7 separate regions of the Homo sapiens genome follow, and regions 2, 3, 4, 5, 6 and 7 are each linked to region 1. Evidence: promoter capture Hi-C in 16 types of primary human blood cells and fetal thymus (Javierre and others, 2016). All regions are on one chromosome and are shown on one strand. The core of a region is centred on a gene start or on the middle of the fragment in contact, and the rest is flanking DNA. Distances in the headings are between cores, read along the strand shown. Region 1 holds the start of THAP5 (THAP domain containing 5). Region 2 overlaps DOCK4 (dedicator of cytokinesis 4). Region 3 has its middle 30 kb from the start of IMMP2L. Region 4 holds the start of RINT1 (RAD50 interactor 1). Region 5 overlaps DOCK4 (dedicator of cytokinesis 4). Region 6 has its middle 99 kb from the start of DOCK4-AS1. Region 7 overlaps DOCK4 (dedicator of cytokinesis 4).

Region 1 (4,245 bases), core at 215-2,714:
GTTGCTCAGGCTGTGGTGCAATGGTGTGATCTCGGCTCACCTCAACCTCCACCTCCCAGGTTCAAGCGATTCACCTGCCTCAGCCTCCCGAGCAGCTGAGATCACAGGCATGCGCCGCCACGCGCAGCTAATTTTGTATTTTTAGTACAGACGGGGTTTCTCCATGTTGGTCAGGCTGGTCTCAGACTGCCGACCTCAGGTGATCTGCCCGCCTCAGCCTCCCAAAGTGCTGGGATTACAGGCGTGAGCCACCGCGCCTGGTGGGGTTATCAATTTTTTTTCCATTAATTAAAATACTGGAAAGCAGCCGAATCATTAATGAATAAGTCCTTCAGGTCTAAAGTAAAATGAGCACAAAACAACTGCTGAAAATCTGAACCAGGTTAGATCTAAATGAATTGTTTTTAAATACAAGAAAAAATGGAAATGCAGTATTTTAAATATGTTGCTTTTCATGTGTTATTAATCATGTGAGTACTATTAACATCTCCATGTTACAGATGAGATATGTGAGACACCAAAGCTTAAATACTTTCCAAGAGGTCATTAAGCTACAGAATAGTGGAACCAGGATCTAGCATTGAAGCCTGGACCCCTAATTATTATACGACACTGCTTGTCTGTACTTCTGAATAAAAATCAGTGCTTCAGTAGTTTGATGGAAATATATCGTGGCTCTAGTAATTCAGAGTAACAGAATAAAACCTTGTTCTCCGCAGAGTATCTACAGCCCTAAGCAGAAGACTAGTTTATAATTCTGGCTCTGACACTAAACTTTCAAGGTCGGTTACCTAATCATTCCGGGCCTCAGTTTCCTCAGGAGAAAAGTGGGATGAAATTATACCTATGCGACCTACCTCGCGGGGGGTGTAAATTAACTTTGCGTGCACCTTTCCACTTCGCAGGTTTCACGTATCTTAAATGGTGGTTAATGTTGTTCAATGAAATGAGATCACGTGAAGTGGGGAAAAGACTGAAAACCACAGAAGCCCGCGCAAACTTTACTGTTTTAACTGTTAACACCCAAACAGGCTCCTGGGCCTCGCCACCAGCCAGCAGTCCTCGCGCAAGAAGGGCATTGCTAGCTAAACTGAACTAGCGCCTTCCCTCCGTCTTGCCGCGGGCGACGGGCCACGTACGGAGAGCTGAGGACTCACTGGCAGAGCGGACAGGAGACACCCAAGCCCAAAGGCCACAGGTCCAAGGCCTCACGGCGAGGCTGACGCTTCTGCTCCAGAAACAACTTACGGATAAAAACTCAGCTTCCGGTCTTTATTGTTTCGTCCCCGGCGGTTCTTACAACAAATCGCTGCGCAATAGCGGGGCATGACTCGGGTGAGGCCCCTGGAGACCGGGGCCGGCGACGGATGCAGGGCGGCCCTCCTCACTGAGGATGCGCCACAGGTCCAGGCCTCTCGAGCCCCTGCGCCTGCGCTAGCATTCTGCCGGGAAAGCCGCCTCGTCTGTCGACTCACTTCCGCCTCCTCCGGTTTAAGCACCGCCTTTTCGGGGGTTGAAGCCGGAAGTGGCGCACAGCCCTAGCAGCAACAACAGTTTTCCACGTGCGCGTAGGGCGCCGGGATCACGTGGGGAGGCAGAAGCCAATGGGGAAGCGTTTCGTGTAGGTCTTCTGAGGTGGTGGCGCCAGCGGCTACCTCCTGCCTGTGAGGAGCTGGCTGAGAGGGGACTGGGCGCCGGCGGGGAAGGAGGAGCGCTAGGTCGGTGTACGACCGAGATTAGGGTGCGTGCCAGCTCCGGGAGGCCGCGGTGAGGGGCCGGGCCCAAGCTGCCGACCCGAGCCGATCGTCAGGGTCGCCAGCGCCTCAGCTCTGTGGAGGAGCAGCAGTAGTCGGAGGGTGCAGGTGAGGGACGAGGCCGGGGTCGTGGGGAGGGGAGTTCGGAGGGTCCCCGTAGCCCAGGCCTGTCTTTGTGAGCTGACTTGGCCTCGGTGTCCGCCACGGTCGCCGCAGGGACAATGGGCTGCATGTTTTTGGCCGAGAGAATGGAAGAACGGAGACAGCCGCATCACAGAATCGTGTTTTGGGTTGTGGCGCCGGCTTTCACGGGCGCCGGATTAGAGCCCGGGTCTCGGGCAGCTTCTGCGGCGGGGCCTGGGCGGGCAGGGAAAGTGCCAGTCGCCTTTAGGTGAAGGTTGGAGGGTCTAGCCCAGCCGCCCACCGAGGCTGGGGAATAAGGCACGGGCTGCTGGCTGGCGGGGCCGTCTTGGGGATGAGAAGTCTGTACAATACAAAACTAGTCTGCTAAAAAAAAATCATTAGATGTCCACCTTGAGACCGTGGAATAACGTCTGCTGAACCAGTGAGGCGCCTCCCTGTCAGTTTTAGATCCGCCCTTTGACTAGGGAGCAACCTGCAGTTGACGCAGCGTCCATGGGACACACTGTTGTGTTCCTTAAACCGAGAAGTGGTTCTTGATTCTTGGTACCCGTGACTACGAGTAACTCTCTGGAAATAAGTAATCTACCTGCCTGCTAATTACTCTCAGGAAAGGCCGCTGGAGAGGAAGCCAGGCAATTTCCACAAACCGTAGTGTTTTTCGTCAGCCTTATTATGGCATTATAGGTTACTAAGGACTCTGGTGGTCCCGTATTCAAAAAACAGGATCCATCCCTTCGTTTTGAATCTCAAGTCATTGAATACATATTGTCAAGAATTCTAAGTTAACATTTCTTTAATGGTTTAAAGGTAAAAGAAATATTTTAACTACTGAGTTTGTGAAAGTAAGAATCTGCCTTAACCACAGTACAAACTATCAAAGTTCATTTTTCTGGCAGCTTTAGCAGAAATCTTAAATTCTGTTCATCATGAGTTTTAAACAATATTTAGCCATGCTTCCTGGTTAAACATTTGGGATCTTACATTTGGGAAAAAGACAACATTCTATTGTATTGTCAGTATTAGTATTGTGATATTAAGATTCTCTATTTGCAGTCCTTGGCTCACCTGCTGAAATGAAAGCTGAATTTTTGGAGCGAGATTAATAATACTAATTTAGATATACTGGGCTATTTACCTTGGTGCGCCACCTTTTTTTTTTAATGTTTTTTTTTTCTGTGAAGTTAAATACATTATTACTTTCAGGATATGAAGTCTTGAAAGGAAAGTTGGGATCTTATATTATTTGGTTTTCTTTTTTTTTCTTACAATGCTTGCATATGATGAATCTTCAATATAAACTGGTTAAAAGTCAGTTATTGATAATTTTCTATCTCCTCTGTGTATGGCCAGAGTATTAGTAGACAGACAAAGCCAAGAATTATTTTTGTTCTCAATAAGGTTAAGCCAGTTTGAGAGTTATAAAACTAAAAGTGAAATTACATGTGGACAGGTAATAGATACTGTATGCTTACTATTTTGATACTGCATTAGGTTTACCTTGTGTTGGATTTCTTTTAAAAGAAAAACGTTTTAAGATTAGCTCCATCCATAACATTTTTTTTTCTTTTCTGTTTTAGGATATTAGAAATGGCTACTCCCCAGTCAATTTTCATCTTTGCAATCTGCATTTTAATGATAACAGAATTAATTCTGGCCTCAAAAAGCTACTATGATATCTTAGGTGTGCCAAAATCGGCATCAGAGCGCCAAATCAAGAAGGCCTTTCACAAGTTGGCCATGAAGTACCACCCTGACAAAAATAAGAGCCCGGATGCTGAAGCAAAATTCAGAGAGATTGCAGAAGGTAAATAAATGACAATCTCTGAAGTGTCATGGGTATTAACTAGTAAGGAGAATGATAGCTAAGAAGTGTTTGTATTTGAAGGTTTTGTGGAGATGGGAGGTGGAGTGGGATTTATGTATAAATATTGGGTGATTCTCTGAGATTATTTTCTTATCACAGATGCTTTGATTCCTGAATAAATATATGAAAGAATAATAGATAATTTTATTGGTATACGTATCTAAAAATATTGAAAATCTATTCTATATTATTTATAAGATCACTGTTGCTTCTATGACAAAAAAGAATTTTAGGTACCCAAAATTCTTATCAACTAACTTATGAAACAGAATATTTTACATTTTAAACATTAAAGACTTAAAAATTAAACTAGACTCTAAAGTGCTTTATTCACTTGATCTGCTTTTCAAAGCCATATTTGTCTTCAAAGAAAAAATTGGAACAAATTTTGACTTCAGACTAGCTCTAAAACAAATTGCACCTGCTGAGCATTCAGTAATTATTGTTGGATGGAGGTAACTGAGTAGGGAGTTAGAATTAAAC
Region 2 (3,742 bases), core at 685-3,184, 3.2 Mb after region 1:
CTGTGAGCAACGGACTCTCAATTACTGCTACTGGAAGTTCAAGTTGGTTCATTCACTTTGGAAAAACAGTTGAAGATATATATACATGTGTGTGTGTGTGTATATCGATTCAGAAATTCTAGGCATATAAGGAAAAGTGGGGTAGGAGGTTTGTGCACGTGTACCAGGAAACATGTACAAAAATGTTCATAATCTCCAAAATCCGTATGTCCATTGACAAGAGAATAAACATATTGTGATATGTTCATGGAATGGAATAGTATACAGCAATGAAACAAACTTCAATCACATGCAATAACATGGAAAAATATTACACACAACACTGAGTCAAATATGTCTCAATAGAACACAAGTAGTATGTTATATAACGTTCAAAACCAGGTAAAACCAAATCGACTTGTTTAGAGAGGCAAATAGGTGATACACTAAGCAAGGGAATGGATACCATAGAAGTCAGGATAGTGACTACTTTTATGGTGAAGATGGAGCTATAATTGAGAAGAGGTGCACAGGAGGCCTGCAGGATACTGCTGGCAATGTTCTGTTTCTTTACCTGAATGGTGGAAAACGGGTATTTACTTTCAGATTATTTGTAACACTAAACCTTTGTTTTATGTACACAAAACCTAAACCATAAAGGAAAAGTCTGAGAGCTCTGAGTAACTGAAAGTTAAAAAGTAAGCAAAACATCTTAGAACATAGAATGGTGGTTCCCAGGGTCTAGGGGAAAGGGGAGAGGAGAACTTCTGTTCAGTGAATATCGAGTTTGAGTTTTCCAAGATGAAAAACTTCTAGACATCTGTTGCACAACAATGTATATATAGTTAACACTACCATACTGCACACATAAAAATGGTTACAATAGTAGGTTTTATGTGCTTTTGGCTATAAGAAAAAAGCAATCTTCATCTTTATAAATTCAAATGCTATTAAAAATCAAATTTTCTAAAAGTAAATAAAACAAGACATAATAAACACAGGCAAAATACAAACGACTTGGAAAATATTTCCAACATGAAGGATAGATAAAATGTTAATATTTGCCAAATACTGAAGAAAAGGGGCAAAGGATATGATTGGTATAGAGTTCATCAATATATGAAAACATATCTTCACTTAGCATTCAAAAAATGCTGAAACAAAACATCCAACCCCAGTATAATTTTGGTCTATTATTTGGAAAGATTAAAATATACAACACTTAGTGTTGGAGAAGATGCTGGGGAAATAAGTATTCCTAAGACTAGTTATCCCCTCTAGACAGGGTGTAAACGATATATCCCATTGCTGAGCCATGAATCAGTGGTTACAGTGGGGATACTTTTGATTAATTCACTTCTAGGGAAATATAAGGGGACGGTCAAAGAAGTGTGCAAAGATATGTGATAGAGTGTTCACCAAGAATTACTTTCCTCTATCCTTCAGATTACAATCTCTAAATATTGTTCACCACTAAAATGAATAAGGAGTCATTGGAGAAATAGCTGCTTTCAGGTCTGGGGCAGGAGATGTTCAAGTGATCCTAGACCACCTCGTCTTACCAGGAAGGATGGTAAAGGTAAGGATGGGAGGAAAACATGAAAGTATCTGGCCTGTGATCCATTCATTTTCTTTACTGGGGAATGTCCTTAAGGGACAGAAAAGACAGGTGACTATGTCTTATCTCTTTGTCAATTGAACCTTCAAGTAAACAGACTAAAAGTAATTGCTAGGAGGAAGAGATGTTATCTACAGAATGCCCTAAAGTCCCCAGTCAAAGGATTTCTTTAAGTAAATAAATAAACCAGAATCCATGAGGCATGATTACAGAATGTCCCTGAGAAGCTTTACAACTAACTCTCTGGAGTAGAAAATGGAATGTTTCATAATCGACACTTCATAATTTAAACGTGCTTCTGAATGAGGAACCCTGTGAACCTCAGGGACTCCACCTATAATTCTGAATTATTACTGATGTGGGGAAGAAGGACCTAGCAGACGATGTGTAATGTCTCAGAAATCTCGCTGCTTTATCTGAGCATCCTGCCTGCCTTGAAATTACTAGTAAAGCTTGATGCTGGGAGGGGTCGCTGAGTCCTGCATCGAACTTGACAATCAGATCCTGTGTGTTAGCTCAGTAACAAACACTACTTGGATACTGTGAAAACAGACTCAGGAGCCATTTTGAAGATGCTCCCAACAGGCAAAGATGGAACATTTTTAAATTTAATAACTGCCATGGATTAAAACAAAACAAATATACTTATATCCATGAGTTACTAATGATCCAAAAACCAACCAAACAAAAACCCCTCCAGTCGCTTTTGTAGAATACAGCATTATCTTTCCTGTACCTCAGGGTAATCAAATATTTAGTGAGAGGACATTTCTCTTTACAGAGTATTCCAATGAGTAAATAAACATGAAATAAAATATCACCATTTTGCAACCCATAAAAGATTAATGGATCTGGTCAATGATCACCAGTGGCTGCCAACATCACACACACACACGACAACCAGTAGCACATAACACCAAGTATGAAGTAGTCTTGTGAAAATAAAAGCAAACATTTTATCAAGTCTCTAGTTCTAACTACCAATTTACAAGGAATACAGGTGACAGAGAAACATGTTATATGACTTCACTGGGATGCAGTCTGCAGAATCCACACATACGGAAACATTTCAGGATAAACAGTCTTTAGTTTCTTCAATAAAAAAATAAGGAAAGTGATGCAAGGGGAAACTTACAGATTGAAAGAGACTTAGAAGACATTTCAATCAATTGCAATGCATGGCCCTTATTTAAATCTGGATTCGAATAATAGAGTAAAAATATTTTTTTTTTTTCTGTTTTGAGACAGTCTCACTTGTTCTGTTGCCCAGGCTGGAGTGCAGTGGTGCAATCTTGGCTCACTGCAACCTCCACCTTCTGGGTTCAAGCAATTCTCCTGCTTCAGCCTCCTGAGAAGCTGGGATTACAGGCGTGATCCACCATGCCCAGCTACTTTTTGTATTTTTTGTAGCGACAGGGTTTTGCCATATTGGCCAGGCTGGTCTTGAACTCCTGACCTCAAGTGATCTGCCTGCCCTGGCCTCCCAAAGTGTTGGGATTACAGGTATGAGCCGCCATGCCTGGCCTAAAAATATATAATTTTTTTTTTTTAAAAAAGAGGGTTGAGACTGTCACCGAGGCTAGAGTACAGTGGTATGATCATAGTTCACTGTAACCTCAAACTCCTGGGCTCCAGTGATCTTCTGGCCTCAACTTCTGGAGTAGGAGGTTGCTAGGACTGCAGACATATGCCACCATGCTGACTAATTTTTTAAATTTTCTGTTTAGACGGTGTCTTACTACATTGCCCAGGCTGGTCTAAAATGCAGAATAAAAGACTTGGTAAAGTGTGGAATGAACACTGTACATTTTATGATCAAGTAATTATTGTTAATTTTTAATGTGACAATATTTCAGGTTTTTAAAAATAAATATGAATACTAAAATATTTGTAGATGAAGTGATATGACATCTGAGATTTACTTCAAAAATAGTCCAGTTGAGAGGGAGCAGGTAGACATGTAGATGAAACAAAATTGGCTTGATGGCTGTTGAAGCAATGATGGGTAAGTCAGGCTCATTATATCATTATACATTTTCTCTATTTTTGTATGCTATAACTTAAGTTTAAAAAGGTCACTGGCTGCCATGTACAGAGGAGACTACAGGGATAAGGGGGAAAGCAAATCTTTTAGGAGGCTACTGC
Region 3 (3,727 bases), core at 451-2,950, 3.0 Mb after region 1:
CAATGGCAGTGGCTTCTGGTTCTGGTGGCAGTAGTGGCTTCCAGCATCTGATGATACAGTGGTGACTGCTCGGCAAAGACAGCAGTCATGTCCTAACCAGGTTCTTTCTGCAGCATAATTTTAAATGTCCTGAGTTATGGCCTCCCTTAATTATTGCTCATTTCTTTCCAAGCCCAATCTTCAGTTCTTCTCATTGATTCTGTGAGCGTTCCTAAACTCTTCTAATAATGTTTTTTTTCCTCAAATATACCAGAATGATTTTATGTTGTTTACAACTAAGAACTTGCCTATATTCTAATGAGCTAAACCAGTGGGTAGGGGCCTTGTAGAGCAAACCTGATTGTCAGAGGTCTACCCCTGTGAACAGGAAGAACAGTTCCCAGAGAAGACAGAATCAGTGGACATCCCAATAAGTGTCTTTTTGCATTAATATTGGAAAAGTTGTCCAAGACCATAGAAGAGCTGAATATCAGAACTTTAAGAAGAATCTGCACATCTCACTACTCAATATAGGATTTATTCCTTTGTCCCAAGGATTAATTTTAATTCTTGAATTAATAATGGATGGGGATACCTAAGGTTATTATAGAAAGGCCAACATAAGCCCTTCACAATCTCAATAATTTGCTATTTCACCAAACTGAAAAACCTATTTCAAAAAAGAAAAGGCTGAATTCAATTAAACAACCTGGTTCTTTCAAAATAACTGGTTACCTAATTAAACCTTACTATTGCCTTAAACTTTGTAAACATATCTTAAACACTACTATGCTAAGATGGGGCAGAGGAATGAATTACTGATAAAATTCATAGTTAATTGAAAATGATATCAAAAACATTTTAATACTTTTCACCACATAATAAAATAAAAACTGTGTGATTTGAGTTTTTATCTCCTTTTATGGGCCTGTTTAATTTCTGTAAAGGAGCTTTGAAATTAAGCAAAATAGAAAGGGAAATAGTAATTTGGATAATCAGTCCCAAATAAACAAGAATTGCTAATTGCATTTCTTGTACACAACTAGGAGTAAATTCAAAAACTGAAAGTAAATTGGACATGATGCTCAGAGAGTATCCTTGAGCATGAGTAACTAAAATTAACCAGAATTTTAAATAAACTGGGGACTCCTAGACTTCTGAAGACATGAATGAGGCTATTAGAACTCTCTTTCTCCTACTCATCCATTAGCAATGTCGGGAACAGTTCATAAAAGATTAATGTTTAAATGCTTAAGAATATATATTTGAATACCTTGAAAACACCAAGCAATGCTTTTTAAATTAATTGATAAGTCATTTTATACTTGTGATGTAGACTTAGACTTTTTTGTAGTAACAAGCCAGAAAACATCTATCCTTCTGAGAGATAATATGTGAAAGAATTGTAGAAGAAATGAGAAAGATGATTAGTAATCCTGTATTGCTTCTTGAGACAGCAATTCTCTCGTAAGTGGAAACTTAGGCAAGCATCAGTGATGAGAAATAGATACATTTTACTCTTTACTTCATGGTTGAGAAGTGCCTGTAATTCACCTTTCAAATAAGAGGCAACATGTATAGCATAATCCCACAGTATTATGAAATTTTGGAGGTGAAAGGGACCTTGATGTATCGGTAAGCTATTGCTCTATAACAAGCCATTCCCAAAACTCAGTGGTTTAAAACATTTATTATTGTTCAAGCATCTACAGATTAGCTAAGGGTAGGCTGAGCTCATCTGGGGTGATTCTGCTCCATGTGTTTCTCATTCTCCATAAACCACAAACAAAATAATAATAATAATAATAATAGTATTTTTTTAAGTTCTCACTTGTTGAAGGCTTACTATGTGCTAAAAGCACTTTAAAATGTTATCTCCTTTACTTCTCACAAAAACATTATGAGGTAGGTACTACTAATATCCTAATTTCACAGATGAGGAAACAAAGAAGGAATTTCCCCAAGCTCAAGAAGCTACTGTATGGTGAACCTGGAGCACACAGATGAAGGTCTACCTGACACTAAACTTTATGTTCTTAATCATTCTGTTATATTCTGTTTCATGAAATTTACTATTCCATTTTCAGAGAGTTCTAACCACTAAGAAGTTATTCTTATATTCAGTGAAATGATTTTCTCTATAACTTTTAATCACTGATCTTAATTTGGCCCTTGAGTACATACAGGATAAAGATAATAATCATAAATTAAATGATATAGTAAAAGTGCCTGACAAACAGAATGTGTTCCACAAAAATTAATCTAAGTCAGCCCCACAATAGGCATAACAGTCGTTAATAAAATGTTCAACCGGGCAGGGCCAGAATTATTTGCAGTTTTACCCAGTTGGCACTTATCCTATTATACAGAAAACTATCCAACCTAGGATAAATACAATGTTTAAGTCCAGATATACTGTGTCTATAACATTTCCTTTATCTATCAGCCTAGTAATCTTGTCAAAAAGGAAATGAGCCCTAGATTGAATAAGCAACAGACAATTAGAATTTAGAGGGTAGAGAGGAGGTAAGGGAACATTAAATAATGCTTTTTAAAATTAATCAGCATATATTTTATTAATAAGCAAGCAGGCAAAACCTAGTAAATGTTGACTTTCTTTCTATTTGGAAAAAATTTAATTTGTTCAAAGGTAAACTTTTGTTTATATTATAGGTTTACCTAAGCTGATGAGAGAACTGAGTACATAATACCTATTGAGGATAATAAACTTGTTAAAAGATGATTTTCAAAATGACAAAATACAAATATTAAAAGAGCATATGTGAAAATTTTTATTTAACTCATTAATTAATGAAGGACCCTGTAAGATATTACAAGCTATTCAAAAAAGAATAGAAACAGTCATATGTAGGCAAGCAGGAATGTTGAAGTAAATGTGCTAATATGTGCAAATTAATAGATCCTATAGGTACTAAATTGTAATGTTTGGAATCATCTTTTCTACAGAGAGGAAATCAATTATATCTCTATGATAAAATTCATTAGCATGTCTATGGAAAAGAATAATTTGCATTTTACTGTCAGTCAATTTTTTACAACTTCCTGAGTTGTAAAATAGCTCAGTCAAGGGCAGTCCAAAGCACAGGTTCCAACAGAATCAGATAACCTTACCTTGGAGAGTAAGCCAGACAGTGTCAGACGTTCCAGAACACCCAGAATTGTGCCCATTCAAAATTCTTCACTAGTCTTCCTGACAAAGTTTCTAGAAGAACATCAAGGAGAAAAACTGGGGGAAGTGCTGATTACATGAAAATGTACACTGGTTGAAACGTTTTACAATTTTTTAAAAACATATTATTTGAGACTCTTTGAGAAAAAAGATAATCCCGGAAAATCATGAAATTATTTTTTTTTAATTTTTTTGTCACATCCTTCAAATAAACTGTTAATCATGATATACAAGGTCAGATGGAAATTGAAAAAAGGAAAAATTAACGTTTTTTAATATACCCTCCCATTTGTCTGCCAAAATTGTATTTAAAAGTAGTGTTATATAATTAATGATATTTTATATTTTCAGATGATTGCTAACAAGCCAAAGAAAAAAATTTCCCTGATCGTATTTGGAATTAAAAAAATCATTGATTGAATGAACTAGTAATATTTTATTTAGCATTTCCTTGTATTTAGAGTGGTAAGAATTTCTATGTCAGCTCTGTCCTCTGCATTGACAAATCAGAAGGTCCTGAATCCTCTTTACTCTGTTATGAGATCATAAAAAAGAAAT
Region 4 (3,807 bases), core at 384-2,883, 3.0 Mb before region 1:
CCACTGATGACTACACTTATGAGGAACACAGACGAGATAAGGCTCGAAAACAGCAGCAGCAGCAGAACCGACTGGAGAACCTCCATGGAGCCATGTACACGTGAGGAGGCTGGGGCTGAGCGCCGGTCCTCTGTGTCTTCCCTACAAACCTTGAATCCTCATTAAAATTTCTTTACCCGTCCCCCGCCCCGCCCCAGAAAAAAAGGCCGGGCGCAGTGGCTCACACCTGTAATCCCAGCACTTTGGTACGCCAAGGCGGGCAGTTCACCCGAGGCCGGGAGTTCGAGACCAGCCTGACTAACATGGAGAAACATCGTCTCTACTAAAAATACAAAATTAGACGGGCGTGGTGGTGCATGCCTGTAATCCCAGCTACTTGGGAGGCTGAGGCAGGCGAATCGCTTGAACCTGGGAGGCGGAGGTTGCTGCGAGCAGAGATAACGCCATTGCACCCCAGCCTGAGCAAAAAAAAAACAAACACACATGTACACTATAAATATATACGATTATGTTCCCATAATAGGTAATTTAAAAAATAGTATCCTTGTTTTTTTTTTTTTTTTTAAATGAGACGGAGTCTTGCTCTGTCGTCCAGGCTAGAGTGCAGTGGTGCGGTCTCTGCTCACTGCACGCTCCACCTCCCGGGTTCACGCCATTCTCCTGCCTCAGCCTCCTGAGTAGCTGGGACTACAGGCGCCCACCACCACGCCTGGCTAATTTTTTGTATTTTTAGTAGAGACGGGGTTTCACCATGTTAGCCAGGATGGTCTCGATCTCCTGACCTCGTAATCTGCCTGCCTCGGCCTCCCAAAGTGCTGGGATTACAGGCGTGAGCCACAGCGCCCAGCCATCCTTGTTTTATGCTTGCAATAGTAATTTGTAGCTCGATTATATATCTCTGTGCACATGTATTTGATTTTTCTTCTCACCGTGTGGTTTCTTTTTCCTCTGAGGGTTGCTTTCCCCCCCCCTTGTTTGTTATGGTCTCTATGGTACTCCTTCCGTGTTAGTTTGTTTAAGAGGCTGTCAAGTCCACAGGTCCTCTACACAACCCTTGCTGCTAGGTAGCTCCCTTTCCTCCTCCCTGGTAAAAGACAGGGTTTTGGGCGAAACACATGTTAGATGCTCTGTTCTCTTCATTCAGCTCCCAGAACGCTTATAACCACCTCTACACCCTCTAGGCAGGAAATCAGAAGCTCATCTCTAGGGACTCTGACCAACGTTAAAAGAAATATCTAAAGATACTGACATTCATTGGAAACCCCCAACTAAATATTCGAACCAAATAACCCTGCACCGAAGCTCCTAGTCAACAAGCCCCCCACACTCTCAGAACATCTGGATATTGCCTAAAATATAAATTTAAATTATTCATATTGAATTTAAGGCGTTGGGAGAGGGATATCTTAAAGTTCCATCATTAAGAGCTTCAATAAAGTGGAGGGGACTTTTACCGCGGTGGAGTGAGCGAATCCCTTCTCTGGAGCTCCATAGGGGAGGGTGCCCGCTTCCTGAGTGGCCGTTCCGACCTCCGGTCAGGAGGGGGAGGAACAGAGCACGGCCGGCGGCTGCACGGGCAGGGCCTCTCTGGGCTGAGAGGAAGAAACCAGTGAGACATCGAGAGGAAGTCGCTGTGGCACTCAGTCCTACGGCCTCCGAGGCTGGGTAGTGAGTGTGTCGCTGGCCTTAGCCAGACTCCACAGGCCACGCTGGCTGCGAATGGAGCCGAGGACTCGCGCGGAGGCGAGATGCTACCAGCCGGCGAGATCGGCGCCTCTCCTGCAGCCCCGGTGAGACGGCCCTGGCGTCCCTGGGAGGGGACATTGGTGGCCCATTGAGGTGGCACAGACCTCCCGGGGGAGATAGTCCCGGTGCGGTGGCCCTGTAAGCTTGTGAAGGTGCTTCCTGCGGCTTAGATTAGAGGCCCTTGTAAGACCTCCTAGAGGAGGCGGTAGTCCCCGTGAAGTGGCTTTGGCGGCCCTGGTGAGATGACAGATTTCTCTAGGGAGGTGGCTCTAGTGAGCAGGCAAGGTAACTCCAGGTCCTGCGGAGGTGACACACACCTCCTGGGAAGGTGGCGGTGGCACCAGGACAGTGGCACTTTGAGGTACCTGATTCGGACGGCCCTGGTCGCTCAGAAAGTGGGAGAGCGTCTGGAACCTCTCTTGCCTCCAGTGGGTGCCCTTTGGGAGCCCCGTATGCTTTCCATCCACGACTTTAATCTTAATGTGCTTGTCACATCTGTTCTTCTTCTAGTGCTGCTCTGAAAGTGGTGACGAAAGGAAGAACCTCGAGGAGAAAAGTAAGCCAGCTCCAAACACCTTAGCTTTTTCTTCCCGCCCAAACTCAGCCTTCCAGGGTCTGCAATATAGAAAGGTTCTTTGCCTATCTTTTAGATGCAGTACCGTTTTCTGCACAATATGCTTATATGGTAATACTGATGACCATGATACACATATTTTTGTCTTTCTAAAATTGTAAAATATGGGATGCTTTGGAGAAGAGCACTTCCCGATCCATACCTAGTACAGGGACTAGAGTGTTTTCGCTGGAAGTCTGCCTATCATACAGTACTCAGAATAATTGGGGCCTGCCTGTCATTTTAATGAAACATCAACTTACTAAGCATCAGGAATTTGGAGGGGCCCATGATCTAGGACAGACGACCACCACCCTAATTGGGTTCAAAGGAGGCAAATGACAGTTGTTTAGTTCACCTTCAGTAAATTGGCAATTTAAAATTGCTCTGGCAAGAGCACAACGGATAACTTGGGTTCTGGATCTTGGACTGGACAGGAAAGGGGGAAAAGGTCAGTACCACCATTTCCTCCCTAGTACGGGAGTATATGTCAGGGTTGTGGACTTTTGCCATTTTACTTTGATGGCAGGTTATTGCAAATCAAGGGCTCTTTAGGGACCTTTGAAGTGACATTTTTTGGGAGAGGAAGGGGAAAAGCATGTGATAGCTCTGCTATTGGGATTTTTGGTTCTTTTGACTGTGGCAAACAGTTGGGAATGTGTAGCAGTAAGAAAAACGGTGCCCACATTAGCACATGGCCCTTAGGAGTAAGATTTGCCCTTAACATTAGCGGCTGATAGAATCTGCCTCAGAAAGAAGGCTCTGAGCAGTCCATAGCACATGACTGTCATAACTGCCACATCTCAGCTCCTTTTTCTTGAAGGATTTCAGAGTGCCTTGTATCTCTCAGTTAAACCCTTCCCTTTCCATTTTCCACCTTTGCCTCATTCAGATGCCTGGAAAGTAGTCTGATGCCTACTGAGCTGTCATTTTAATAAAATAATAGATGTAGACTATCATATCAAGGACTTTGACCTTGTTCCTCTTTCCACAGCTCAAACTGCTTTGCAGTTAGGAGTGCTCTTTACAAAAAATAGAAAAGGAGACACATAAAAACCTCCCAAACCACCGGTGTGTCATTTTGAAGAATGTCATTTCACTAAGAATGTACTATGCCACATTTGAATGGTTACACATCAAGGGTGTAATTTTTTTTTTTTTTGAGACTTAGTCTCACTCTGTCTCTCAGGCTGGAGTGCAGTGGCGCGATCTCGCCTTACTGCAAGCTCCGCCTCTGAGTTCAAGTAATTCCCCTGCCTCGGCCTCCTCAGTAGCTGGGATTACTGGTGCCCGCCAAACACCCGGCTAATTTTTGTATTTTTAGTAGAGGCAGGGTTTCACCATTTTGGTTAGGCTGGTCTTGAACTCCTGACCTCAGGCAATCCACCGTCCTCGGCCTTCCAAAGTGCTGGGATTATAGGCATGAGCCACTGTGCTCAGTGGGTGTA
Region 5 (4,087 bases), core at 309-2,808, 3.2 Mb after region 1:
GGATTTATCTTAAAAAGGGTTTCTGCAAGACCACAAAGTTAATTTCATAGAACCACACTGGAAAGCTAATCACAAAGGGAGGCTATGGCCTGATCAGGATGCATCCAGGCACCTTACCCGCATCTTGCTCAGGTTTCTGTAGTCATAATAACTCTCATACTGCTCTGCAATCTTCCGGCACAAGATAATGCCATTCTCCCAACACTGTGGACAAATGAATGAGATCAATGGAACCATCTGACAATATCCACTTACTTCTACCCAAAAGTCAGAACATGAGTGCTTTCAGAGCACCAAGCCTTACTCCTTAATCTTTTTTTTTTTTTTTTTTGAGATGGAGTCTCACTCTGTCACCAGGCTGGAGCGCAGTGGCCTCATCTTGGCTCACTGCAACCTCCGCCTCCCTAGTTCAAGCGATTCTCCTGCTTCAGCCTCCTGAGTAGCTGGGATTACAGGCACGCACCACCACACCCAGCTAATTCTTGTATTTTTAGTAGAGATGGGGTTTCACCATGTTGGCCAGAATGGTCTTGATCTCCTGACCCCATGATCCACCCGCCTCGGCCTCCCAAAGTGCTGGGGTTACAGGCATGAGCCACCGCGCCCGTCCACTTCTTAATCTTTATAAAACACCTTGAGACTTCAAGCTTGAAAACACCATGTAATTGAAATGTAAATTATTAAAAATCCTTTGAATGCTGGAAACGATAATCTACCACAACAGTCATTAATATATTGTACATGAACTATATTTTCTGGTGTCATTCCAGAATCATCTTGAAATGACTACAGTTCCACAATGGCCGAGTAGATGGATATAAACAGGCCCTCAGTGCAGAGGAGAGAATTACCACTGACCCCTAAGGCCCAATTATCTGTGACTGGTACCCTGGATTCCTTGCTTGGCTTAGTTGTGCTTGCAAATTGTGAGAGGTCTAACCAAGTTGGTTACTCTCAGCAGAAATGTAAAAATTCTTTAATCTAGTATAGGTGTCAGCAAACATTTTCTGCAAAGGGCCAGAAAGTCAAAACTTTAGTCTTTGAGGACCATTTAGTTTTTGTCACAACTCTGCTGTACTCAATTCTGCTGTTATAGCACCAAAGCAGCCATAGACACAATTAAGCATGGCTGTGTTCCAATAAGAATTTAGGGACACTAAAATGTGCATTTCATATCATTTTCACATGTCCCAAAATGTTATGATTCCTTTGATTTCTTTCAACCATTTAAAAACGTAAAAGAGATTTGTAGCTTTGGGGCTGTACAGAAACAGACAGTGAGCCATTTGACCTGTGGACCATAGTTTGCAACCCCTGATCTAGCACAGACTCCCGGGGATGGACCAATAAATGAATTCAGAGAGTTTGCACCACTTTATCCCACAGGTGGAAACTTTACAGCAGGAGGGCACAAAAACATTTCTTTTGGTATTCATGTAATGATATGTCAGTGTACCTAGATAAATAATAAAGGAAGATGTGGAAGAAGCAACTTCCTTGCATCAAATTTTTACGTGTACCCAATTATATTTTGTAAAAGAATTACAGCCATTGGTTGTATTTTAATTTTCTGTTTAACCTTTGCAATCTGGAAGATAAATTTGAGTCTAAGACATGTACCACCAAAGCATCCAAGTGTTCAAATCCAATAAACAATGGCGGTCAGATTCATGAATTTTTTAAAAGAGTACTACAAGCCCTTGAAGAGGGGTAGGAAGTGGAGGGAGGTGATGTACTGAATTGCTTTATGAAGTCAGTGAGGTTTTTTCAACACCTCAAGGCATCTCTTAAGTATATGATGGGATGCCACAAAATTCTTTAAACAAATTAAGTTTCATATATTTTACCTTAAAGTATAATGGAGCAGAATGCATGCCAATTTCGGGAGAGTGTGAAGGATGATAATGGTTTTTCAGAGAATACAATATCTGCGTGCTATGGTCTGCATGTTTGGGTCTCTGACAAATTCATATGTTGAAATCCTAACCCCCAGGGTAATGGTATTAGGAAATGGGGTCTTTGGAAGTGATTAGGTCATGAGGGTAGAGCCCTCACGAATGGCATTAGTGCCCTTATAAAAGAGGCCCCAGAGAGTTAGCCAGCCCCTTTCACCATGTGAAGATACAGCAAGATGGCCCTCACCAGACACTGTATCTGCCAGGGCCTTGATCTTGAACTTCTCAGCCTTCAGAAATGTGAAAAATAAATTTCTGTTGTTTATAAGCTACCCAGTCTAGGGTATTTTGCTAAAGCCGCCACGAATGGACTATGTTACTGGGGATCAAAATCTCTAAATCGGTGTTTATCAAAGTGTAATGAAAAGGTCATGCACATTGGACTCTCCTAGGGTCCTTGTTAAAATCACAGATTCCCCAGCCTCATGCCAGACAAGGCACGAATCAGAATGGCTCATTCAGAATCAAAATGAATCAGAATGGCTAGGAGTGGCACCTAGGAATCTGCATTTTAACAAGCTTTTGGGTGTTTCTAATATACATTAAGATGTGAGGATCCCTGCTTAAGGAGGTGGGCATTCATAAACTAGAAATGAAAGGGAAAGGGACATCAACACCATCACCCCAGGAGGGACCCCGGGCGGGGCAGGGCCACTTACTTTGCCTCTGTCAAAGTTCTGGATGATGGTGAGGTGCAGGTGCTCTTTGCGCTGCCATTCTGTTTGCATGGGGTAGGTCAGGAACTCCCTGAGGGGCCGATCAGACCATTCCAGTAGCTCGTCATATAAGAGGAGGGTATATGCAGCTTCTGCAAGTCACGTGAGAAGACAATGATTGAGACAGGACCCCAAGCCACATTCCCTCAAATGTGGCCAGTTTCCGACAAACTGGGGAAAAAAAATACTATTTTCTAAATTTCGTGATATAGCAGAAAAATATCCAGAATATATGCAGCAGTAGGGTAATGAACGAGGACTTCCCCTGGATGATGGACTTGGACTAATCAGATCTGTATTTCATCTTTTGTTTCCTGTATTTTCGTTTCTGTTTTTGTCTTTTGTTTTTGTCTTCCCTAAAATGTCTGTATGCTACAGTATAATCAAAATGTGTAAGGATATCATGCTGTTGCTGGTTCAAAGATGTGGGGAGACAGGCCTTTGTTTGCTGAGAGAGTTCACTAGTAAGTTCCTTGGGGACTATGAGCATCCCCCAAAGGGCAGGCTTAGGAAATAAAAAATGGCAAATTCTTTGGGATAATAAAGGGCTGAAAAATCGAAACTGGTGAGGAGGGGGTTCAGAGTGGAGGCAGAATTTACAAGGGGCAAAGAAGCCAGAGAGGAGCTGAGTGAAGACCAAAAAAAAAAAAAAAAAGAAAAAGAAAAAATCTAATAACAGGGTAGGGATTGGAGAGGGTGGAAGTGCTGCATGAGGAGTGGGGGGAGTGTGTGGGTGTGTGGGTGTATTTGTGTGTGTGAGAGAGAAAGAACCGTTGCAGGCTGTGTGATATGACTGCCTTGCCCCAGATGGCCCCACAAATCTTCTGTAAAGAATACTGATATCATTACATGCTTGGCATGGTTGGATTTCCTGCAGAAACAAGGGGTGATTTTCCATATACACATAAGTGGAAAAGGTGACCTATGGATTTAAGTATGGTTGGCAGATAGTGTATTTGACAGGATACTTGCCATTCTGCAGGTCTCTCCTTTTCCTGAATTGTAAATATAGCCCAATAGATCAAGAATAGGAACCAGAATTGTCACTGATAAAGGACTATAATAATTTTTCCTATAATGTCATAATAGCCTACTCAATTACTCAATTGAATAAAATGGACAAATACTTATGTTATTAATCCATTTAACTCCACCTCAGGTTTCTCAAAAGACATAATGATAGCTTTTAAGATGGTATCAATAATGGTAATTCCTTTTCTTCATTTATTTGCCTTTAGGGTAACTACACATAAAGCCCTAAAGTAATATGCTGAGTTATAATGCTATGATGTGGCCATCTCCATGTAAAAAAGATAGTTGCAATAAGAAGGGCCAGGGCCCCTATCACAGGCACTGGTCTTTTTTCTCTTCAATTACCTTTGGTGAGCTTATACAATCTCCTGGTTCAATTATTAT
Region 6 (3,650 bases), core at 863-3,362, 3.1 Mb after region 1:
TACATGTGCATGTTTGGCCTGGATGGTTTAAGACATGAATTTGATCTAATCAGCCTTAGATATTTTGGGAGAATATAGCCTTCAAAAATGTTTTTAAGGCATCATGTAATTCTTAAGTATTTTCAACGCATGCACGTGTGCATGCACATAAACGCACAGAACACTCACTGAAAATATTCTTTCATATATATGTAAAAATATACCAAGTGTGTTGGTTTATCATTTTCTACGTACAGCTTACTGGCACAAAAGTCCAAAAAGAAGCCCTTGCAAACATGATTTAATTTTATTGACACACCTTGCATCAATTTTCTAATTCAAATTCTACATGCAATGGTTAGGATTCATTCTAAACTGCTTAAGTACTGTAGAATAAATTTGATAGAAGGTCCTTCCCCCTACCACACACACGATAATTTAAAGGTTCTAGGATGGGTAAATGGCTCTGCTACATAACTAGTTATCTCTGCCTTCAATGTGTAACTTCTGTCTCTAGGCCCAAGACCGCAGCTGCAATTCATTTTCAGCTGGCAGTGAGGGGAAAAGGCTTTAGTGCAGGGCAAGCAGCTATGAGTTGTCCCAGAATTTGCATACATCGCTTATGATCACTTGCTATTGGCCTGAATTTAGTCACGTGGCCATTCCCAGTTTAAAGGGAAGCTGAGAAATAGTCTCTGCCATGAGCCCAGCTAAAATACAGGGATTCTAGTACAAAAGGAAGGAGAAAATGGATACTAGGGGGTTAGCAATCTCTACCAAATCAGTGGCATCTGATGTGTGAAAGTTTACTAGTTTTTCCACAGTTAACTCAATCTTTGTTTCAATGAAGTATAAAGAGGAATGTCTTGTTGAACAAGGAACCTCTTCCTGTTCCTTTCAGAGGAGAGAGGCAGTAGGCATTAGATAGAATCAAGAATATGGGGACAAAGAAAGAATATAAGAACTATGTGGGTTTATAATCCAAGCTTTGATATTTACTGGCTCTGTGACTTTGAGTAAACTGCTTTTCGTGTGCTTCAGTTTCCTCATTAGGATGATAGGAAAGAAAGTAGTTGGAATAGGGTTTGGGTTATAGGATTCACTCAGTTAATACTTATTTTATCTACTGAGGGTAATTATTAATAATTCCTTTTAGCTAATATTTTTAATGAAATATTCTGAAACTGTTATTAGTATCGTTCTACTATGAGAAGTACTTTTCAAAGAGCAGTCGTGGCCCTGTTGAGTTGATTTCACCTCTCATCTTCTGAAACTTTTCCAACTTCATTTCTTCTTACTCCTCCCCTGTGATTCTTTTCATTCCCAACACCTAGCTGCTTCCTGCCTTGGCTCATTCTGTTTCTTCCTTTCAATCCCTTCCAGACAGTTCATACTCACAACTTTTTCACACTTTCATCTCAAATTATTCCCCAAGCAACTCTTATCTACTCCCACTGCTGGAGCACCTCAGGCTTCCCTACATTGGAGATGCCCATTTAACCATCCTCTCTTGTACTAGTTTATATGGCATTCTGGTCTCTCTGGCTGACACTGTTACCTGCCTCCCAAATATCCACTGCTCTCTTTTGCTTGCTATTAGAAACCCAATTTTATTCAAGGCAGTGATATGTTCACCAAGTAAAATGTTTACTATCCTAGCCTACCATGCAGCTAGAGATAACTGTGCAACAGTTCTGGCAAATGAGATGTACTGGTGTCTGTTTAGGGATTTGGGATATTTTTACCTATAAAAAAGGGAGACATTGTTAAAAAAATTATCCTGACACTAGTTAAAACAGTAAGACAGGCTTTATTCAGGAGTATTGTAATGGGTGCCAACACAATCACAATAGGGGAGCTTTGTCAAGCTCAACTCTGAATACAGTAAAGACACCTGGGGACTTACAGCCAATGAGAAGGATGAACGGTTATTGGATGGAAAATAAATAACTCAGAGAAGATCTCAAGGGTAGGGGGATTCTTGCTAAACTGACCTGACAGCATTGTTGCTGAAGACAGGCCAGGGTGATCAGATATCAAGGATGGGTGATGAGGACTTTTTGATCAGACTGAGATATCAGGGGACCTAGTTGAAATAAAGCAAGGACCTAGTTGAAAAAAGGGCTCGGAATTCCTACCTAGAGCAATCAGACAAGAGAAATGAATAAAGGGCATCCAAATTGGAAAGAAGTCAAATTATCCTTGTTTACAGATGGTATCTTATATTTGGAAAAAGACTCCACCAAAAAACTATTAGAACTGATAAATTCAGTAAAGTTGCAGGATAAAAAATCAACATGCAAATATCAGTAGCATTTCCATATGCCAACAGGGAACAACCTGAAAAAGAAATCAAGAAATTTATCTCATTTACAATTACTGCAAATAAAATACCCAGTAATTAAAGAAGTGAAAGATCTCTACAATGAAAACTATAAAATATTAGTGAAAGAAACTGAAGAGGACATAAAGAAATGGAAAGATATTCCATGTTCATGAATTGGAAGAATCAAGGTTGTTAAAATGTCCATACTTCCCAAAGCAATCTACAGACTTAATACAATCCCTATCAAAATACCAATGACATTCTACACAGAAAGAGAAAAAGGAATCCTAAAATTTATATGGAGCCACTAAAGACCCAGAATAGCCAAAGCTATCCTAAGCAAAAAGAAGAGGGCTCAGAGAGACTTTGTAAACATAGCTGTTTTGCTCTTCCTTCTACCATTCCCCATTCACCCCCACCTTTCTTATAATCTGGACCTGTGATATCTGAAACTGCAGCAGTAATTTTGTGCCCATGAAGAAATACACAGGAGGAAAAAAGCACCCTCGTTAAGGACGGTGTAATGAAAATAAAGAGCTGGAGTTCCTATTGGCATCATTAGTCAGTAAACAAATGCCAGCAGCCACCTGACTCTTCATTTGTCTTGTCTTTGCATTTCCAGCTGATAAATCTACCATTTCCACATATTTCCTGTGTCCCTCCCACCTCAGGTGAAATTTCTGTCCTATTTGGTTCCAGAGTTAATATTGGAAGCAGAAAATACTTTAAATTTATTCCTGCTTTAGATCCCACCCCTGACTCTAGCATTGACTTACTCTAGCAATTGGCCTGACCTGGCATGGGGTTACCCAGCACTCTACATGAGGCTCCAGAATTGCATCCTCAATGTACCTGCTTCATCTTTCATCTGAGATGTGATATTCTGGGGAGAATTATGGGCTTCTCAGTTGCTCTCTGAAAAGATCACTTCCACCTCTTACCTATTTTATGTGAATAAGCTTCTGAGTCTTTGTTTTAAGCCCAAGTCTTCCATGTGAGTGTCAGTTTATAGAACTGGACTTTTTACGCTCCCCATCCTGACTCCTGCTGGACATTGGCTGTCTCTGACCCTGGTCTAAAGGCTGGCACTCTTTTCCCCTTGAGAATGCCTAAGAGACACCAGTGTTAGCCTTCTGAGCATCCATGCTCTTTGGTTTCCCTGCAGACCTGTGGTGACCCCCTGCTTTCTCATCCTGAACCCAAAGCATGGATAAACCATGCATAAGCCATGACTGGAGATGTCCATAAGATTTGGGCTTTGTGTGTGTGTTTAAAATCTAGACTATGCTCAGCTGTTAGCTCTTACAGCTGCTCAGTTACCCCAGCAGAAGGTCTGACCTGGTAG
Region 7 (3,809 bases), core at 933-3,432, 3.2 Mb after region 1:
GTGGTACTCCACTGGAGAGGGGGTGAAAGACTGCACAGAGCCCTGCTCCGGGGAGAAGGAAACGAGAGGGAGACACAGCATTGAGTCGTGAACGCAGATGCGCTGAAATGTACGCCCCGACGCGGAGGCCCCGGCCCCCAGCACCCCCAAAGCCGGCTGCAGCAGGAGATGCAGCCTTTAAGGAGGTGATTAAGGTAAAAGGCCATTATGGTGGATCCTAATCCAAGCTGACTGGTGTCCTTATAAGAGACATTTGGACACACAGGGAGACGTCAGGAATGCGACACACACAGACCTTGCAGGAAGGGCGGTCTGCAAGCCCAGGAGGGAGGCCTCGGGGAAACCAAGGCTGCCACGCATTGATCCTGGACTTCTACCTGCCAGAATTGAGAAAATACATTCCCAGTGTCTAAGCCACCCAGTTTGTGGTATTTTGTGAGGGAAGCCCGAGCAGACGAATACACTCACACTCAAATTTGAGTGTTGTCCTTTGTAGCACTGAAAATGCACACCAGACGTTTATCTGCGAGGGCCACCAGTCCTCGAGTTCAGTTCACCGCCCAGTTTACTCCTTATCATTTTCAGATAGAGGAGAAAGGAGCTGGGCATGGTGGCTCACGCCTGTAATCCCAATACTTTAGAAGGCCGATGCAGGGATCACTTGAGGCCAGGAGCTTGAGACCAGCCTGGGCAACATGGCAAAACCCCATTTCTACTAAAAATCCAAAGGGTTAGCTGGGCGTGGTGGCTCATGCCTGTAATCCCAGTTCCTCTGGGAGGATCACCTGAACCTTGGGAGGTTGAGACTGCAGTGAGCCGTGGAGCCACCAGTGCACTCCAGCCTGGGCAACACAATGAGACCCTGTCTCAAAAAATAAATAAAGGTATCCACCAAGATAATCTGGAGGCACACATTAGTCCTATAGTTTGGAAGAGAGGGAACTGGCCAAAAACCCCAAAAACCTAAAAACGCCATAAAACCTTTGGGGGCGCTATTCACTTTCCCAGCTCAGCAGGGCATGCTGCAGGCCAGGAGCCAGGGCCGCTGAGCACACTCAGCTCAGAAGACCCAGAGAGCTCAGGAGGAGGAGCAGAGGCACCCGAGGTTCTGCACCTGATTTCTCCAGCCATCACTCCAGACTCCAGACTCCTGAGCTGAACTGGCGAACTGGCAGCCCTCGGGGCTGTAGCCTGTGATGTGAGCTGTTTCCTCAGCAGTTTTTTAAAAACCTAATTTAGTTAATTTTTAACATTTCAAATTTCACATGAAACTCCAGAATTCTGGCAGTTCATAAAGAACTAGGAGTTCTGGCCACAATGGCACACATTCTCTTAATAGAGATAATCTTTAAAAGCTGAGAAGGGCTGTCCCTTTTCACTTTGCCAGTCCCCACTATGCCACGTGGGGACTACACCCGGCCTCCTTCATTTGTGTCAGCTGTCTGGCCCCATTTGGCATCTGAGTTTGTTACTTTCCCAACTAGTATCCCAAGGAAAACGAGTCCTAAGATAGATGCTCTGTGAAAAGAGGGTTCCGCTGGGAAATGCTGCACACTGTATACTCCTTGTGTATATTCAAAACATATTCGCATTTTCAAGGCTTAGAATAAAGGAATACAAATAATTTTGTTCAGTCCAGTGTTTTCCAAACTTACTTGACTATAGACCTTTTCTCCCCCGCTTATTACATAATGTCCTGGAAAACTAGTGTTCTATGGTATACACTTTGAGAAATGCTATCTTCTTAAGCTAACTTGACTTTGGTTTCTCTTTGTAAACAAAATAACGCTGGTAGATACACATCCTGTCATTTAGTAGGAGCCTAACATTAAGGCCAATTAAGAGTTCCCAATTCACTGCTACCTCTGTCAAAAGTTAGACCTGAAATTCAAAATATGGCAGGTCAGCTCAGTCTTCGCTGTAGGGTTAGACCCACAGTTTGATGGCTGGCTGGGGTAAAAAAAAAACCCAAAACCCCACTAAACTCTTATCAGTTAAGGCAGCACACTGCAAGGCTAGTAACATGGTAGCAGTGTGCCCCCTAATGTAACCCAGGAGGTATAACACAAATGTTCGATCTATGTTCTCTTCCTTCAAACCCTACATATAAAGACATGGCTTCGAACTGCATATGGCCAGTAAAAATGTACACAGGTCTGCTGAGAGACAGTATATACCAGCTTGCTAAGACTATTTTATAGCTATTCAAACATTTTTAGCTCTTGGGTTCTTTTTAATGTTTAAGAATTAATCTCTTAAGACTTATTTTCTTACTACCCAACAAAATTTAAGTTGAAAAATACAGATGATAATTCCATAGCAACGTGTGGGAGCTCTGTGTGAGTAAGGGCAAATGTAAAAGTGCGGAAAAGCCATGTTGCTTTCCTTTCTATCACATCGAGGTGACAGGCTATGACTTCCAGAGTGAATGCTGTCACAGGTACTTCATAATAACAGCTGCATTACAGAATGAGAACAAAACGAGCAAATCACTTGCACTTACCCGCGAATTTCTACGTCAGAAATTCTGGCAATGCAAGGGAATCACACTTCTTTCAATTTTCTCCATTTTGCGGGGGGAGGCGGGTTGTTTTCCCGTTTCTCAATTTCTATCAGCAACTATCGTTAGCACCACAGATGCACTGGATCGCAACCTGCCCCTATGTGTTTGTAGAGGCTAATTTGTCTTTTGCACATTAGCTAGAACTAGCTCATCACACAAAGGACATGGAGCGTGTAAATCCTAAGTCACTCAGGTACAAAATCATTCTTTCGACACACTTCATATTTGCCTCTGGTGCAGCAGTTCTGAACACCAATCTCTCACGTACTGACAATCCTTGAAGCCGGTCTGATTCAATTTGGATAAGACTAAATATTATTCTTTATCTTCATGAGGGATTTTTTATGTTTAAAGATGTTAAATAGCCCATGTCTACAAACCAATTCGAATGTCTGACCTTTACAGCTTTCCAGTTTGTTCCCTAGAAATCTTTTAAATCCATATTACTGCCTTGTTTTTCATGATCAAGTATGTATTTCTAATGTAAATGAGAAACTTGGTATAAAATATTAACAGAGAATGTTAGGTTTGGCTTTGACAAAATGGGTTTGGCTGACGATAAAGGCAAAAAGACACAGAATATTTAGTAGATCTTGATACTGATGTTTCTCAATCTAAGTGTGTGTGTGTGTGTTTGATGTACCTTAAACTAAAAGGCCAGGCTGAAAGTTTCCTAGGAGGTACATTAGGACCACATTCCTTTCCTAATTCAGTATATGCACTGACTTCAGTCTGCAAGTTCTCACTGCTACCATTTGGAGAATGAGGCTAATAATCGAAAAACAAATGGCTGCGTTTGTGCAGGAGGCACCCAGAAGGGAAAGTCCAGTGTTGTTTTTCTCAACCAGCTTCCCCTATCCCTGATTGATAAGTTCTTTGCCTGGTCCCTGCAAATTAAAGCACCTTTTGATATATCTGGGATGAGTCTTAGAGAAAAAGAAAACTGGGCCAGTCTCTAGCCTCAGTCGAAAGAAGGGCCTTTACCTTCAATGGAGATCGCCCGGCAGGCGAGGGGGATACTGATGTCGTGTGTCTTGCTGGTGAAGCTGTCAATGGGGAGAGAGATAACATTTCAATTAAGAAAAACCAGACGATTGACTATCTGCACATGCCCTCTGTGTTACAAACCCAAACAGATGATCCAGTGCATAAGGACCTTCTAAGCAAAGGGGGTGGTGAGGATGGGGGAGAAGCTAAATGATGCCTGTCTAGAATGGGTTCTCACAAAGGGTGGCACTGCCAAGAT

What was found. Contacts are between HindIII fragments. The CHiCAGO score rates a contact against its expected background, and 5 or more counts as called.
Region 2: a fragment that was not itself captured here is called in contact with the fragment with the promoter of THAP5 in region 1 in 11 of 17 cell types (M2 macrophages, fetal thymus, M0 macrophages and 8 more); the score reaches 24.7 in M2 macrophages.
Region 3: a fragment that was not itself captured here is called in contact with the fragment with the promoter of THAP5 in region 1 in 1 of 17 cell types (M2 macrophages); the score reaches 5.8 in M2 macrophages.
Region 4: a contact is called between the fragment with the promoter of RINT1 here and the fragment with the promoter of THAP5 in region 1, in 1 of 17 cell types (non-activated CD4 T cells). The highest score is 6.3, in non-activated CD4 T cells.
Region 5: a contact is called between a fragment that was not itself captured here and the fragment with the promoter of THAP5 in region 1, in 3 of 17 cell types (M2 macrophages, M0 macrophages and activated CD4 T cells). The highest score is 11.4, in M2 macrophages.
Region 6: a contact is called between a fragment that was not itself captured here and the fragment with the promoter of THAP5 in region 1, in 1 of 17 cell types (M2 macrophages). The highest score is 7.7, in M2 macrophages.
Region 7: a fragment that was not itself captured here is called in contact with the fragment with the promoter of THAP5 in region 1 in 13 of 17 cell types (M2 macrophages, total CD4 T cells, fetal thymus and 10 more); the score reaches 27.9 in M2 macrophages.

The regions. Positions count from the first base shown.
Region 1 is chr7:108,568,242-108,572,486 of GRCh38, forward strand. THAP5 (THAP domain containing 5) reads right to left here and starts at 1,465. Exons shown (of 3, transcript NM_001130475.3): 1 at 1,249-1,465. The coding sequence starts at 1,328. DNAJB9 (DnaJ heat shock protein family (Hsp40) member B9) reads left to right here and starts at 1,633. Exons shown (of 3, transcript NM_012328.3): 1 at 1,633-1,862; 2 at 3,476-3,702. The coding sequence starts at 3,486. RefSeq lists enhancers at 1,048-1,527, 1,061-1,788. The HindIII fragment of the contact is 6,219 bases long and covers 522-4,245 here.
Region 2 is chr7:111,748,623-111,752,364 of GRCh38, forward strand. The region is part of intron 42 of DOCK4 (dedicator of cytokinesis 4); the gene reads right to left. Among named protein-coding and RNA genes, the nearest start is that of DOCK4-AS1, 58 kb to the right of the region's middle. The HindIII fragment of the contact is 225 bases long and covers 1,823-2,047 here.
Region 3 is chr7:111,590,464-111,594,190 of GRCh38, forward strand. No RefSeq gene overlaps it. Among named protein-coding and RNA genes, the nearest start is that of IMMP2L, 30 kb to the left of the region's middle. The HindIII fragment of the contact is 7,955 bases long and covers 1-3,727 here.
Region 4 is chr7:105,530,568-105,534,374 of GRCh38, forward strand. RINT1 (RAD50 interactor 1) reads left to right here and starts at 1,634. Exons shown (of 15, transcript NM_021930.6): 1 at 1,634-1,790; 2 at 2,257-2,302. The coding sequence starts at 1,749. It also overlaps the pseudogene LOC100131785. RefSeq lists enhancers at 915-964, 1,252-1,829, 1,415-1,714, 1,805-1,984, 1,830-2,406. The HindIII fragment of the contact is 4,822 bases long and covers 1-1,887 here.
Region 5 is chr7:111,766,915-111,771,001 of GRCh38, forward strand. It overlaps DOCK4 (dedicator of cytokinesis 4), which reads right to left. Exons shown (of 53, transcript NM_001363540.2): 37 at 2,615-2,763; 38 at 118-204. Among named protein-coding and RNA genes, the nearest start is that of DOCK4-AS1, 40 kb to the right of the region's middle. The HindIII fragment of the contact is 1,827 bases long and covers 646-2,472 here.
Region 6 is chr7:111,707,663-111,711,312 of GRCh38, forward strand. No RefSeq gene overlaps it. Among named protein-coding and RNA genes, the nearest start is that of DOCK4-AS1, 99 kb to the right of the region's middle. The HindIII fragment of the contact is 2,299 bases long and covers 964-3,262 here.
Region 7 is chr7:111,728,679-111,732,487 of GRCh38, forward strand. It overlaps DOCK4 (dedicator of cytokinesis 4), which reads right to left. Exons shown (of 53, transcript NM_001363540.2): 52 at 3,548-3,609; 53 at 1-42. Among named protein-coding and RNA genes, the nearest start is that of DOCK4-AS1, 78 kb to the right of the region's middle. The HindIII fragment of the contact is 5,943 bases long and covers 1-3,809 here.